Regions from separate parts of the Homo sapiens genome. Here all the other regions are linked to region 3. Evidence: promoter capture Hi-C in 16 types of primary human blood cells and fetal thymus (Javierre and others, 2016). All regions are on one chromosome and are shown on one strand. Each heading gives the region's core, a stretch centred on a gene start or on the middle of the fragment in contact. The rest is flanking DNA. Distances are from core to core; before and after follow the strand shown. Region 1 overlaps UIMC1 (ubiquitin interaction motif containing 1). Region 2 has its middle 13 kb from the start of FGFR4. Region 3 holds the start of SLC34A1 (solute carrier family 34 member 1).

What was found. The method cuts DNA at HindIII sites, captures the fragments that hold promoters and counts their contacts. A CHiCAGO score of 5 or more calls a contact.
Region 1: a fragment that was not itself captured here is called in contact with the fragment with the promoter of SLC34A1 in region 3 in 1 of 17 cell types (monocytes); the score reaches 5.5 in monocytes.
Region 2: a fragment that was not itself captured here is called in contact with the fragment with the promoter of SLC34A1 in region 3 in 1 of 17 cell types (endothelial precursors); the score reaches 6.0 in endothelial precursors.

Annotation. Positions count from the first base shown.
Region 1 is chr5:176,900,524-176,905,011 of GRCh38, reverse strand. UIMC1 (ubiquitin interaction motif containing 1) reads left to right here. Exons shown (of 15, transcript NM_001199298.2): 15 at 1-6. Among named protein-coding and RNA genes, the nearest start is that of HK3, 3.4 kb to the right of the region's middle. RefSeq lists an enhancer at 4,345-4,488. The HindIII fragment of the contact is 1,138 bases long and covers 1,824-2,961 here.
Region 2 is chr5:177,071,731-177,076,675 of GRCh38, reverse strand. It overlaps a transcript of ZNF346 not described here. Among named protein-coding and RNA genes, the nearest start is that of FGFR4, 13 kb to the left of the region's middle. The HindIII fragment of the contact is 2,298 bases long and covers 2,459-4,756 here.
Region 3 is chr5:177,382,832-177,387,342 of GRCh38, reverse strand. SLC34A1 (solute carrier family 34 member 1) reads right to left here and starts at 2,909. Exons shown (of 13, transcript NM_003052.5): 1 at 2,856-2,909; 2 at 1,493-1,648; 3 at 1,207-1,356; 4 at 994-1,122; 5 at 777-920. The coding sequence starts at 1,601. The HindIII fragment of the contact is 19,795 bases long and covers 1-4,511 here.

The DNA of each region.
Region 1 (4,488 bases), core at 1,143-3,642, 480 kb after region 3:
TTTTAATTTTTTTTTCCTTCATGTTGCAGGGTTTGGGGTGGGGATACTTTCATTGTAGAGGTAGTTTATTAGACTCATAAATCACATGCTGAATGAATGCCATTACTGATCCTTGACATACCATGTATATATTCACTTAATGTGTACTGCACAATTCCGAACATTGGTTACTCCCTTGACTGTTTCTGACATAATTCTGGGAGGTGCCAGGGGCATTGACTCCCACTACCTATTCTGCTATCCCTACCATTCAGTGACCTGTCCCTTCATCTTGTACTCACACAGTGGAATTCTCAGCCTGAGCATAGAACATTTGAAGGATGTGTCCTGCCATTCTTCCCAGGAATGTGCAAGTGAACACTCTGTTATTAGATGCCTATGCAATTATTTTTTCTAAATAGATTAACCAGTGGGGATGCCAGGCATATTCATCTGTTCAAATCAAGATTGGGTCTCTTGATGCCAAAGGTTAGCAGCAACAGGACATGGCTTCTGTTTTGGTAACATTACTAACATAGCGCACATTCCTCACCGTGTTGCCTAGGAGCTTCCAGTGCAGAACAGAGATGTGGTCTGTTCTCGGTGCATGCCATGTGCAGACTCTGAAGATGAGAGGATGTCAATTGGCAGAAGGAGCTACCTGAAGGAGATGACCAAACAAGGATGTGAAGAATGCTAGTTTTGGCCAAAACTGATTTGAAGTTGTAATGAAAAACTGGGGGAGGTGGCTGTTGACCAGGAAAGGATCTTGGGACAGGATAAACAGGCACACTCAAGACTCTCCTAACTTCTGATTTTGTCCAAAGTTATCTTTTCTTTTAACATGAAAACGAGGTATGTGTTAGACTGGGGAGTTAGCAGATAGCTGGGATGGAAGACAGCACAAACATTAAGGCCTTGTTCCTGCCTAGGTCCCTTTGCACACAACCTTTTGAGTTAGAAGAAGGCAAGATGGCAGTCTCACTGTCTTTTCCTTCCATAGATAATGTCTTGCTGTTGGATGGCACTGACCTAGTGGCTAGCAGCACATAAGAAATAGCTGTTATTTTTTGAGCAACTACTACGGTCCAGGCAATGTATGTGGCCTTCATTTAATCCTCATAGCAACCCTATGGGGTATAGGTATTATCATCTCAATTTCCAGATGAGGAAGCAAAGGCTTAGAGTAACAAATAAGCCACTTTTTGTCCATGGCAGTGGAACCACAGTGCCCCTACTCTTCATTCCTGAAGAAAATGCTATATTTTGACTCCAGTATTGATTATTTTCCTGTTTTTCTTCTAGTGAAAAGTAGTTTATCAGTTATGTCCCATAAGCTTAACTCTCGCTTGTTTTCTCTTTCATTAAATGGCAATTTATTGGAGGTAGCGCTGTATAAACAGGGGACAGTGTGTGTATCTGTTTGCCTGAAGATAAGAAAAGGGAAAGGGTACTTCTGGAAAGTGAATTATTTAGCTTAAAATTGAGCAGTTTCCCTAAAACATGAGTCAGCAGCAGGAGGGTATGGATCAGCCAGACCAGGAACCACAGGCTTAATTATTAGCTAATGGGGAGTCAAGGGAAGAACAGCTACCCACTTCCCCCATCGCCTCCTCACAACCGTCTTGTTTGCCCACAGTCTTATTCTCCCCATGCTGTGATCCTGTGAGAGGAGCATTAGTGAAAGAGTGAAGAGACAAAGTATAAAATGTGTGAGATCAGCCTACATCTGCACCCTGCTTCTGATAAAAGTTAACCTCTCTGAGACCTGGCTTTCTTGTCCATAAAATGGGAAAAGATCATACTAACAGGGTTCTAAGGATTACCATAATGTGGATAAAGCTTTGATCCAGCACAATGTCATCACATAGAAGAATGAGTTAGTGGCAGCAGTTATTAATGTGATGCTAGTCTATGTGTCACAAATGATGTTGCACTGAGGGGTGGAGGGATGGGGGACGGGTGCAGATGCAAGAGGAGATAGTTTTCAGAGGAATGTGTACTCAGGAGGGACTACTCGGGCTCCATCAACCATCAGGCTTCCACAGGAAACTTGGGTCCCAGGCATCTAGAGTTCTCCTAGGGCCCCTGGATTTCTTTTACTTCTGAAAGATGAGAAATAGCTGTTCTGCTGATGCTGCCAACTCACGGAGAGCTGGGAAGCTCCATAAACTTCACAAGCTATTGCCGTAAATTGGAAGAGATAGAGGGGGACTTCTCTTTGTTAGGCGCTGTAGTTGTGCTTTTTCATTTAGTCCTTACAGCAGCCCCAGCAGAGGTTGTGCCTCGCCCATTTCCCCCAGGCATTCGCCATTCTGCTGTATACCCACAGAGTCCTGTTGCAAGTACCTGAGACTCTGCCTGAGGACTTCTCTTGGTTTGTGTTGGCACAAGCTGAGAGTACCAGGGAGTTAGTGCCCCTGGGACAGCTCTCAGCCAGTGGAAGTGGGAGGATAGATACCCCAGCTTCCTCACTCAGTGAGGGACAACTCTAAGGCACATTCTACCTATTTCTCAGGGTTCCCTGTGGGAGTGAACCTCTCTAAGCTCCCAGTAACAATTAACGTACACTTCCTTGGCTTCTTTCTCTTCCTACCTGGCTTCCAGCTCCTCTTCTGTATTTTCCTGATCAGGACTGGGACTAGGGTGATGAGCCTTTATTCTTGGGTTCATCTAAGTGCAAGGTTGGCACCCGTATGAACCTGAGAGGGTCTCTTTACATTCTGTACCCTAGGCATATCATTTGCATTGCCCTGATTCTGGCCCTGTCCTGGATCACTTCCCAAATAAAGTTATTTGCATTCAAATTAGGTCTGCCTCTGGGTTTACCTAACCTAAAGCAAATCCTATGAAGACATCAGTCTCCAAGTTTTATACAAGGAAAACCGAGGCTCAGAGGAATAAGAAATTTGTCTAAGGTCTTTCAGTTGGTAATGAGATGGGATTTTGAAACCAGGTCTGCCTGACCCCAGAGCTGAAGCTTTCTGTACTATAGCACACTACTTCCTACTTCTCATTTCAGTCACAAAACTAATGACTCAAGGGAAATTTCAGGTTTGGATGAGCTCATTTTTGCCTGTGAATCAGGGTAGCTTTGGCCTTAGGTTGTTAGCAGATGGGAATTTGGGGAGGGGAAGGCAGGTAGTAAGTGGATGAGAGGGTTGTAGTTGTCAGTGGAAAGATGGACTAGTGGAAAGACTGCTGAAACCATATGCACCAGGAAGACAGTAAGAGCTTGCTTGCTTCCTCTCAGTTTCAAAAGCCCTGGACTTTTTTTTTTTTTTTTTTTTTTTTTGAGACAGTCTTGCTCTGTCACCCAGGCTGGAGTACAGTGGCGTGATCTCGGCTCACTGCAACTTACCCTGCCTCCCAGGTTCGAGCAATTCTCTTGCCTCAGCCTCCCGAGTAGCTGGGATTACAGGTGCACACCACCACGCCCGGCTAATTTTTTTAATTTTTAGTAGAGACGGGGTTTCACTGTATTGGCCAGGCTGATCATGAATTCCTGACCTCAAGTGATCCGTCCACCTCGGCTTCCCAAAGTGTTGGGATTACAGGCGTGAGCCATCATGCTTGGCCAGCCGTGGACTATTGAGATTGTGGGAGGGCTCTTCAATTTAACAAAAATTAATTGATACTTGTTCCTTGCCAGATAAAGAACTGAGGTCTGAGGCTGCACGGGTGAATAAGAAACATTCTCTGGGAGCCCATAGTACAATGGGGAAGAAGAACACATAAACAGATGCCTTTAATAAACAGATATAAATGCAGTGATACAAGAACATGCATCATAATACGGAACCAATAAGCAGACCACACTCAGCTGGGGTCGGCCAGGAGGAGCTTTTCAGAGAAGGGCTCCTCATTGTCGTTGATGATTATAATTTAAGGGATGAGGAAAAATGAGGTGAAAAGGTGGGAGAGGCCAAAGGGAGGGTCATTCCAGACAAGTCAGTGCAAACAAAGACACAACAGAAGTAGCTCGATGTGTGTAGGAGAGCTGCAAGGCACATTCACGGTATAAAGGGTGTGGAACAAATTGGGGGAGCTTATTGAGGATCTCTGTGCCTGGCATGGGCACTGTGAGTGGTGAGAAGCCTGTGAGCAAGCGCAGAGGGAAGGCCTGACCTCCCAGCCCATCGGCAGTGCTCTGGTTGTGCCCACCTCTCCCCCAGCAAACTGCCTTTCCTCATTCCTTAGCTCCATCTCTACAGTTGGAGATTGGCACTAAGGGGCTATGAGGGAACCTCGTGAGGACTTGTCCTTCCCTTTGTTGGTCAGTGGCCATCTGGTGTCTGAAGAGAACCGCTGGCAGCTGCAGTGCCTCTGCTACAGCCAGGCTGTCCCAGCTGCTCACAGACCTCAAGCTCAGCCATCCTTCTCCCTCCACTGGCCTTGACCCAGACTTTCCCTGGCATTCTGACTAGGGAACCAGGACCCCTGCTCCTGGGGTCTGGACACAGACCTTCCAGAAACGCAGATGAAGAGCCCTGGCCATGCTTGTCAGGG
Region 2 (4,945 bases), core at 2,358-4,857, 310 kb after region 3:
GCAGAGGGGGAGAGAGATTGGGCTCCATTCTGAATACAGCATGGGCGAGTGGGAATTCTGAGCCAAGGAACAGAGTGGGGAGCAGTGAATGGAAAATGACTAAGAGGAAACGTTGGGGTAAAGGGGTTCTGTCCAAACTGACCCAACAGGATTCTTGCTGAAGACAGGCCCATCAGCCATCACCTGGGGGATGGTGGAGGAGGAGGAACCTGATCAGATATCGAAGATGGGCGGCAGTTCTTGCTAAACTAGACTTAGCAGGTTCTTTGCTAAAACTAGATTTTACAAGGAAGTGCACAGATGGACCTAGGAGAAGGCTCAGAAGCCTGACTAAAATTTGGCCAACCAAAGAATCTTTGTCATTGGTAGAAGACCTACATTTCTCTCAACAACAGCCTCTTGATAGGGCTGCTTGAGTGTTCCCACAACACGTTAGCTGGTTTCCCTCAGAGCTGGTGATCCAAGAGAGAAATATTGAAGCTGCAATGTAATGTATAACTTACTCTCAGACATCAGATTCTTGTCACTTCTGTCTTATTCTATTAGTTAAAAGTGAGTCACAGCCAGGCACAGTGGCTCACGCCTATAATCCCAGCACTTCAGGAGGCTGAGCGAGGAGGATTCCTTGAGCCTAGGAGTTTGAGACCAGCCTGGGCAACGGAGTGAGACCCTAATAAAAAATATTAGCCAGACGGGCGTGGTGGCTCACGCCTGTAATCCCAGCACTTTGGGAGGCTGAGGCAGGTCAATCGCCTGAGGTTGGGAGTTCGAGATCAGCCTGGTCAACCTGGTGAAACCCTGTATCTATTAAAAGTACAAAAATTAGCTGGGCGTGGTGGCGGGTGCCTGTAATTCCAGCTAATTGGGAGGCTGAGACAGGAGAATCGTTTGAACCCAGGAGGCAGAGTTTGCAGTGAGCCGAGATTGCACCACTGCACTCTAGCCTGGGCGACAAGAGAGAAACTCTGTCTCAAAAAAAAAGGAAAAAAAAATTAGCCAGGCACAGTGGCGCATGCCTGTAGTTCCAGCTACTCAGGAGGCTGAGGTGGGAGGACTGTTTGAGCCCAGGAGATCGAGGCTGCAGTGACCTATGATTGTGCCATGCACTCCAGCCTGGGGGACACAGCAAGACCTTGAGTCAATCAATCAATCAGTAAGTAAAGTGAATTGCTACTTACAGCCCATATTAGGGGATATAGGGTAGAAATTAAACTTGACCTATTGAAGGGAGGAGTATTAAAAAGTGTAGATTTTTTTGTTTGTTTGTTTTTTGAGACGGTGTCTGGCTCTGTCGCCCAGGCCGGGGTACAGTGTTACTCATCTCGGCTCACTGCAACCTCTGCCTCCTGGGATCAAGCCATTTTCCCGCCTCAGCCTCATGAGTAGCTGGGATTACAGGCACCCACCACCATGCCCGGCTAGTTTTTTTTTGTATTTTTAATAGAGACGGGGTTTCACCATGTTGTCCAGGCTGGTCTTGAACTCCTGATCTCATGATCCACCTGCTTTGGCCTCCCAAAATGCTGGGATTACAGGCGTGAGCCACCATGCCCGGCCAAAATGTAGATATATTTTATTTTTATTTAAAAAAAATTCTTTTTTTTTTGAGACGGAGGGAGTCTTGCTCTGTCGCCCAGGTTGGAGTGCACTGGCGCGATCTCGGCTCACTGCAAGCTTCGCCTCCTGGGTTCATGCCATTCACCTGCCTCAGCCTCCCGAGTAGCTGGGACTACAGATGCCCACCACCATGCCCGGCTAAATTTTTGTATTTTTAGTAGAGACGGGTTTCACCGTGTTAGCCAGGATGGTCTCGTTCTCCTGACCTCGTGATCCGCCCGCCTCGGCCTCCCAAAGTGCTGGGATTACAGGTGTGAGCCAACTTGCCCGGCCAGGAATCCCTCCTCTGTCTGACCTAACTGCCCTCTGCCCTGGAGCTGCTCAGCCTCTATCAATTTTTCTGGCTCTCAGCGAACGTTTTCATTCAGTTGCAAGACACAGAAACTCAAATTCAAACCTGCTTACACAAAATAGTGAATGTACTGGCTCATGCACTTTTTAAAGAGATGAGGTCTGTTGTGCTGCCCAGGCTGGATGTGAACTCCTGGGCCTAAGAAATTCTCCTGCCTTAGTCTCCTGAGTAGCTGGGACTACAGGAGCATGACTGTAAGTCCTGGTGTGAATCAGGCTCCAGAAACAGCTTGATCCTGGTTCCCAACAGTATGGTCAAAACTCATTCTCTCTTCTGTCTTCTTCTCTATGACAGGTGCTCCCTAAGAAGTGACAAAGAAGGCCACTAACAGCTCTGGGCTCGAGACATTCCCACTTGGCAACTTCTCAACTGTTCTGGCAAAAGCCAGGAGAGTGGAGGTCTTCCCCACCCGGACTACATAAGCTGAGGGTGGGGTTTTTCAAAGAAAAGCTTATTATAGGAAGAAGGGTAAACAGACACTAGGAAGCTTCTGATTATTATACCTAGTGATTCTGTGAGCCTTTACTGCACAAACTGTTCCCAAACTTAATTATTTAAAACAATGTATTATTTCTCACAATTCTGTGATTAGCTGGGCTCAGGTGGCAGTTCTGCTTATGCTGTGGATTGGCTATGCTAGAGGGTCTGGGATGTCCTCCCTCACATGTATGGAGCTGGCTGTTGGCTTCTCTCTCTACCTGGTCTGTGGTCGCCACATGGTCTAGCCCAAACTTCCTTTCACAGGGTCAGGAACGGAAGCTGCATGAGCACTTAAGTCCTAACCTTGGAAGTCGTACAGTCATGTTACTGAATTCTCTGATCAAAGCAACTCACAAGACTAGTTCAGATTCAAGAGACTGGGAAATGGACCCCCCCCCTCCCCCGCCCGCCCGATCTTGATGGGAGCAATGATAAAGTCACATTGCAAAAGGACACAGGCACAGGGAGGCAATGATTCATGGGAGGCCATTATTGAAACAATCAACTGTGTTCCACAACTCGCCTCTTCTAGTTCCTTTCACTAAGCCTCCTCCCACCCCAGCAACCTGGCTCCTTTGACCTTCATGACCACTAGAGGATCATCTCCCTCAATAAGTCTTTCCGGCCAGGTGCGGTGGCTCACGTCTGCAATCCCAGCACTCTGGTAGGCCGAGGTGGGAGGATCGTTTGAGCTCAGGAGTTCAAGACCAGCCTGGGCAACACAGTGGGACCTTGTGTCTACAAAAAATAAGATAATTAGCTGGGTGTGGTGGTGTGCGCCTGTAGTCCCAGCTACTCGGGAGGCTGAGGTGGGAGGATCACTTGAGTCAGTGAGGTCGAGGCTGCAATGAGCTGTGTTTGCACCACTGCATTCCAGCCTGTGTGACAGAGTGAGACGCTGTTTCAAAAAACAAACAAAATAAATGTCTTTCCTGTGAAATCCCAGCAATGGTCCCTACCAGACCATACCCATTTTTATTCATTTATTCATTAATGTATTCAATCACCAAGCAGTTATTAAAACATAAGCACAGTCCTATGCTAGGGACCAGGGATGCAGTATCATAAGACCCAATTCCTGCCCTCAAGCAGTTTCTAGTCTAAAAGAAGAGACAGGGAATTAGATCATCGTAACACAGCATATTAAGGGCTATGCTAGAGGGGAACACAGGGCATCTGGGAACACAAAGGGCAGCCAACTTGGCCTTGGGGGCCAGTGATCTCTGGATGAGTGGAGGTCCCCAGGTTGACAAGGGGAGCTGGAGCAAGTATTAGGCAGAAATCTTGGTTGCAAGTTATAGAAACTCAACTGACTTAAAGAAAAGTCATAACTAAAAAGTCCTGGGGGATATTAGCTTCAGGCATAGCTGGATCCAGGTAGTCATCAGAAATGAGTCTCTCCTTATCTGGAGTACAGTGGTGTGATCTCGGCTCACTGCAACCTCCGCCTCACGGGTTCAAGCAATACTCCTGCCTCAGCCTCCTGAGTAGCTGGGACTACAGACGTGCGCCACCACGCCTGACTAATTTTTGTATTTTTAGTAGAGACAGGGTTTCATCATGTTGGCCAGCTGGCCTTGAACTCCTGACTTCAAGTAATCTGCCTGCTTTGGCCTCCCAAAGTACTGGGGTTACAGGTGTGAGCCACCGAGCCCGGCCTCCTCTGTGTTGGCTTAGTTCTGAAGCAGGCTGTCCTTACATGCTGGACACTAACAGCTGAAGACTATGACTGTGATTACTCAGTCGGGTCACAGGCTCACTCCTGGAATCAGAGAGCAGGGCCAGTCCCTCGGAACCACAGGATCTGAGAATGGAGCAGGTTTGTCACCCAAAGGAGAAAAGGAAAAGAAGGGCTGTGGAGCTGGCCTGACATCAGGTGTACTTCTAGACAGGTGACTAAGTTACAGCCCTCAAACAGAGAGGGCCTCCTGAGGGAAATGTCCTGAGGGAAGGGGAAATCGGCCTTGGGAATGAGCAGAAGTGCTAAGATCAAATCTCTCTCCAAGGCTACTTCTTGGTTGTGTAAGCTCTGCAAGACTTTGTCCCTGACTTTCTCCTGTGAAATCAAGTCTTTGCCAGTTGTCCTGAGGGTTAACTGAAATAGCATATACAGGGGCTCGTGAAGTCACCCTGTTCTCTTCCCATTAAATCAAACAGTAAAGTCCCAGGGCTGGTCTACCTTGCTAGAAAAAAGAAGCTGACTCCACCTAGTGGCTAATGGGGTCATTGCACTGAAGAGTTGAACATTTACAGAACTGCGTTCTGATATTCCTAGACAGATGAAGCAGCATATATGAACAGTAAGCTTGGGAGAGACAGGCCGGGGACGGGTCTGCCCTGTCTCTGTAACAGGGCTTTGCACAGGGCAGAGAGGTGAGGTTAGGTGGATGGATGGTCAGAGGGAGAAAGTGTTCTTCCTATTGTATTTTACACTAGTGACTGCTCATCAGAGCATCTGGTTTGGGGGTGGGGACAGCTCATCTGGCAGGGACTGCT
Region 3 (4,511 bases), core at 1,660-4,159:
GCTCACTGCAAGCTCTGCCTCCTGGGTTCATGCCATTCTCCTGCCTCAGCCTCCTGAGTAGCTGGGACTGCAGACACCTGCCACCACGCCTGGCTAATGCTTTTTGGTTTTTGTTGTTTTTTTTTTTTGTATTTTTAGTAGAGACAGGGTTTCACCGTGTTAGCCAGGGTGGTCTCGATCTACTGACCTCGTGATCTGCCCCCCTCAGCCTCCCAAAGTGCTGGGATTACAGGCATGAGCCACTGCGCCCGGCCAGTGATGGTTAGTTTTATGTGTCAACTTAGCTAGGCTGTGGTACCCAGTTATTCAACCCAACACTAGCCTGGGTGTTCTGTAAGGTGTTTTGTAGATGCAATTCACGTCTACAGTCAGCTGACTTTAAGAAAAGGAGATTATCCTTGGTAACCTGGGTCAGCCTAATCCAATAGAATGAAAGGCCTCAAGCAGAACTGAGGCTTCCCTGAGAAAGGAGAAACGCTGCCCTGTCTGGACTGCAGTGTCGGCGCCCACCTGAGAGTTCCCGCCTGCCCTTCCAATGCCCTGGCCTACGGATTCCTGACTTGCCCAGACAAACTACCATCGGGGAAGCCAGTTCCTTGCCATAAATCATCTGGGTCACATACAGCTACAGTTGGGCTCCTCTCATGTCCCTGGCTGATACAGGAGTCAAGCTGAATGGAGGCCAGCCTTACTGGGGTCACGCTCCCCATTTGCCACCCTTCCCAGCTCCTGGGGTGCCCCTCCAAGCTCTTCCCCACCCTGGTGGGCCAACTCACAGCCAGAGGAGACCATGCTGACGATGATGGATGTGGAGGTGCTGGAGCTCTGCACCAGCACGGTCACCAGGATCCCCACCACCAGCCCGGCCACCGGGTTGGACAGGATGGCGTTATCCTTGAAGATGTCACCAGCCACCTTCCCTGGGGAGCATGAGCCAGCGTTGTCCAAGGCCCTTCAGGAACCCCTCCCAGGTCTCCTCCACCCGGGCCCTACCTCCAGCCAGCTGGAAGGCCGAGCTGAGCATGTCCAGGGAGCAGACGAAGAGGTAGAGGAAGGTGAGCATCAGTGGCACCTTGAGCAGCATGGCGCCAGCCTGGCGCAGCTTGGGGACCAGCCTGGACTCTGGATGGGGGAAGCCATGAGCATAGTGGGCAGAGGCCAGGGCAGGGACTGCTGCCGCCTCTGCCACCCCCAGCCCAGGCCCACCTGGCTTCTGCTCCTCCTCCAGGGCCAGCTTGGCAGGCAGTGGTTCATGGCGCTCCAGGACCTCCCCACAGGGGCAGGTGTGCTCAGCAAGGGCCACAGGGCCCAGGCTGGGGAAGGCATAGGCAGAGGTCCCCGGGATCCTGTGTAGGACTAGGGAGGGAGCCTGGTCAGGAGCCCCAGGGCCCCAAAGTGGGGAGGCGGGGAGGAACAGGCGGGGGAAGTGGCCTCATCCGGGATGTGGGCAACCGTGGGCAACCAGGGTCCAGGGTGTGGGAGCAGCACTTACCCTGAGGGCTGGGCACGTAGGCAAAGGCCGTCCCTCGCATCACATGCCCCCCACGGACTGGGAGTGGGGAGACAGCAGGGGACCCCAGCCTCTCTCCGTAGGACAACATCCTGGGCACCCACTATGAGGTCTGCAGGTCAGTGGGTCTCAGCAACGCTGAATGACAATAGCTGTGTCCGGGACACTCATGCCCACACACCCTCACCTGCACAAACCCCCATGGCGCATGATTCCAAATACACACCTAGCAAAGCACACCCTCCATCCTCACCACACACACACACCCCTCCGAGACTCACACGCACAAACACACACCCAGCAAACCACACCCTCCATCATCACCACCACAGCCCTCCGAGACTCACATGCAGACTCACATGTGCACATCTGTGCTGGGCACCTGCATGTGAGTCTCGGAGGGGTGTGTGTGGTGGTGGTGAGGTGATCATTCATTCACCATTCACTCATTCAATGAGTATTATTGAGCTCTAGCCCAGGCTCCGAACCAGAGGCTTGGATATAGCATTGATAAAAGACACTGAGAACTGAGGACGCCCAGCCTGTTTGGGGCTGGAGGGGGCCAGGGAATACGTGGTGTTGGCAGTGGCTGCAGGTGTGGGCTGGGGCTGGGCCGGGCTTCAGTTTTGCCCACCTGGAGAGCAAGGAGGAGCTGCAGACACCTGCCTTCTCATGGGGTCAGCTGGGCACACACGGAGATCCCCTGGGCCGGATCCCGAGTTCCTGGGTTCCCCTCACAATGAATTCCTTTCCCCATCCACCCCCTCAAGGGGCAATGAACAAACACTGACAGGCTTGCCTCAGCCCCCCCTTGTCCCCGCACTGCCCCAGGAGTCTTGGCTATTGGGGTGGAGTGCCCTGATCTGCCTCAGCACTCCCCGCATTGTCCCAGCGTCCTTGGCTGTTGTAGGGGTGTGAAGAGTTGAATTCAAGTCCTGAAGGAGCAGGAGTCCTTTTTTTTTTTTTTTTTGAGATGGAGTTTCACTCTTACCGCCCAGGCTGGAGTGCAGTGGCACAATCTTGGCTCACTGCAACCTCTGCCTCGTGGGTTCAAGCGATTCTCCTGCCTCAGCCTCCCAAGTAGCTGGGATTACAGGTGCCTGCCACCACACCTGGCTAATTTTTTGTATTTTTAGTGCAAACTCGACCTCAGGTGATCCGCCCACTCGGCTTCCCAAAGTGCTGGGATTACAGGTGGGAGCCACCGCGATTGGCTGGACTGACATGTTATATGGGGCGCGGTGGGGGTGGGCGCAGATAGGACACAGATGAAGGGGCTGGGGTGCTGGGCTGTTTCCTACTCAGAGCTGGGGGTGGGGTTGGGATGTGAGGGTCCTGGGCTCACCTTAGAATTCTGTGTTTCAGCTTCTGCTCAGCAGCTCAATGAAGCCTCCAGGACCCTGAGGAGAACTGAGACCCTCCTCTTTATACTCTTGGGTCAAGGGCAAAGTCCCTGGAACCCTAGCTGCCCTCCCTCTGTCCCCCAATTAACCTCACCCCTGAGATTCCTCCCAGTTAATTGCTAATCGTCAGCTCTGCATGGGGAATCTATGGTCAGGTTCTTCCCATCAACCACGACCCAGACACATCCCCCGCCTGCAGGCAGAGACCCTGATGCCACTCAGCACCTTGTTCCCAGGGTCCCCTCGTTCCTGGCCTGACAGGACTCCCCAGGGAATGACCCAAACATCCTATGGCCTTCGGAGGTTGCAGTGAGCCAAGATCGTGCCACTGCACTCCAGCCTGGGTGACAGAGTGAGACTGTCTCAGAAAAACCAAACCAAACCAAACAAAAACATCCTATGGCCTTGCCAAGCGTCGGGGTGTCTGTAAGTCTCCCAGGGGGAGCTCAGAGGAGAGGGAGTGTGAGATGAGGACCTAAGCTGGAAAGGCCGTGGAATGTTGAATCGTGGCAGGTCTCTAATGCCCGACCATGGGTCCAGGATGTGAGTCTGAGTGAATGTGGAGCCGCTGGCCAGACTGGGATGGGCCTGATCTGCCTTTTAGAATGGCCCCCGGGGTGGAACCCGGATATATGGAAGGGAGCCTGGAAGCGGAGGGGCCAGTTAAGAGGCTAATGGTCCAGGCAGGAGATGATGAGGCCTGAACTCCGATGGGAACGGAGGGGCTGGGGAGGACAGGTGCATCCCAGGGACATCTGACCAGTAGAATTGGTGACGGGGAGGGAGAGAGGAAAAGGAAATAGATGGGAGTCGGGTCTCTGGATCTTTGGCTAGGGCTGGGTTCATGCCCAGGTAGGAGGGTGTCGCTGAGTCACGGAAATGCAATCAGTTCTCAGTTCTTGTGTCAGAATCTCTGGGTCCTTGGGCTTGAAGGTGCTGTTAATGTCACATCGAGTGTCTCCACCTATGAGCAAACTGACACCCCCACAGCGGGCCCAGAGACCCCGGCCCACGTGACCTGTTTCTCTCCATTCCCCCGTGCAGTTCAGACCCTTGGCAGGAGCAGCTGAATCCAAGGTGCTCCTGGTGAACTGGGGGTGTTTCTCCTTTTTAATAAGGTTGTGCTTTTTGATATTTTTGAAGTTTGCCTTCCCTGCTGTCACGGAGCTCTGGGTTTAGTGGGGGAGGCAGTTAGCTATCGATCAAATCCATCAAGAGATATAATTCCAAAATGCTGCTGATTTACACAGCCACCACTTCTAAAGATTTATTTTGGGGCTACAGCCCTAGTGAAAGTGAGAAAATGCTGGATCTGACCAGAGCTGCTGTTGGGACTCATACAAGCAGCAGAGAAGGCAGCTCCATTCCAGCACCAACGTATCTCTTGCCAGCCTCTCTGCCATTTCAGCACCTCCCTGCCTACTGCCTGCCTCCTCCCTGGCCAGTGACAGAGTCTGTGTGTCCCCCTGGGTGGTGAGTCCCACCTTGTCTGTGCACCTGGGCTCTGGCCATGGCCTCCCCAGACCTTTTCTGGGCTGAGAGCCTGCCTGGTTGGGGGTGTCTCGCGTTGAGAAAGGAACCCAGCAGGAGGAGCTGTT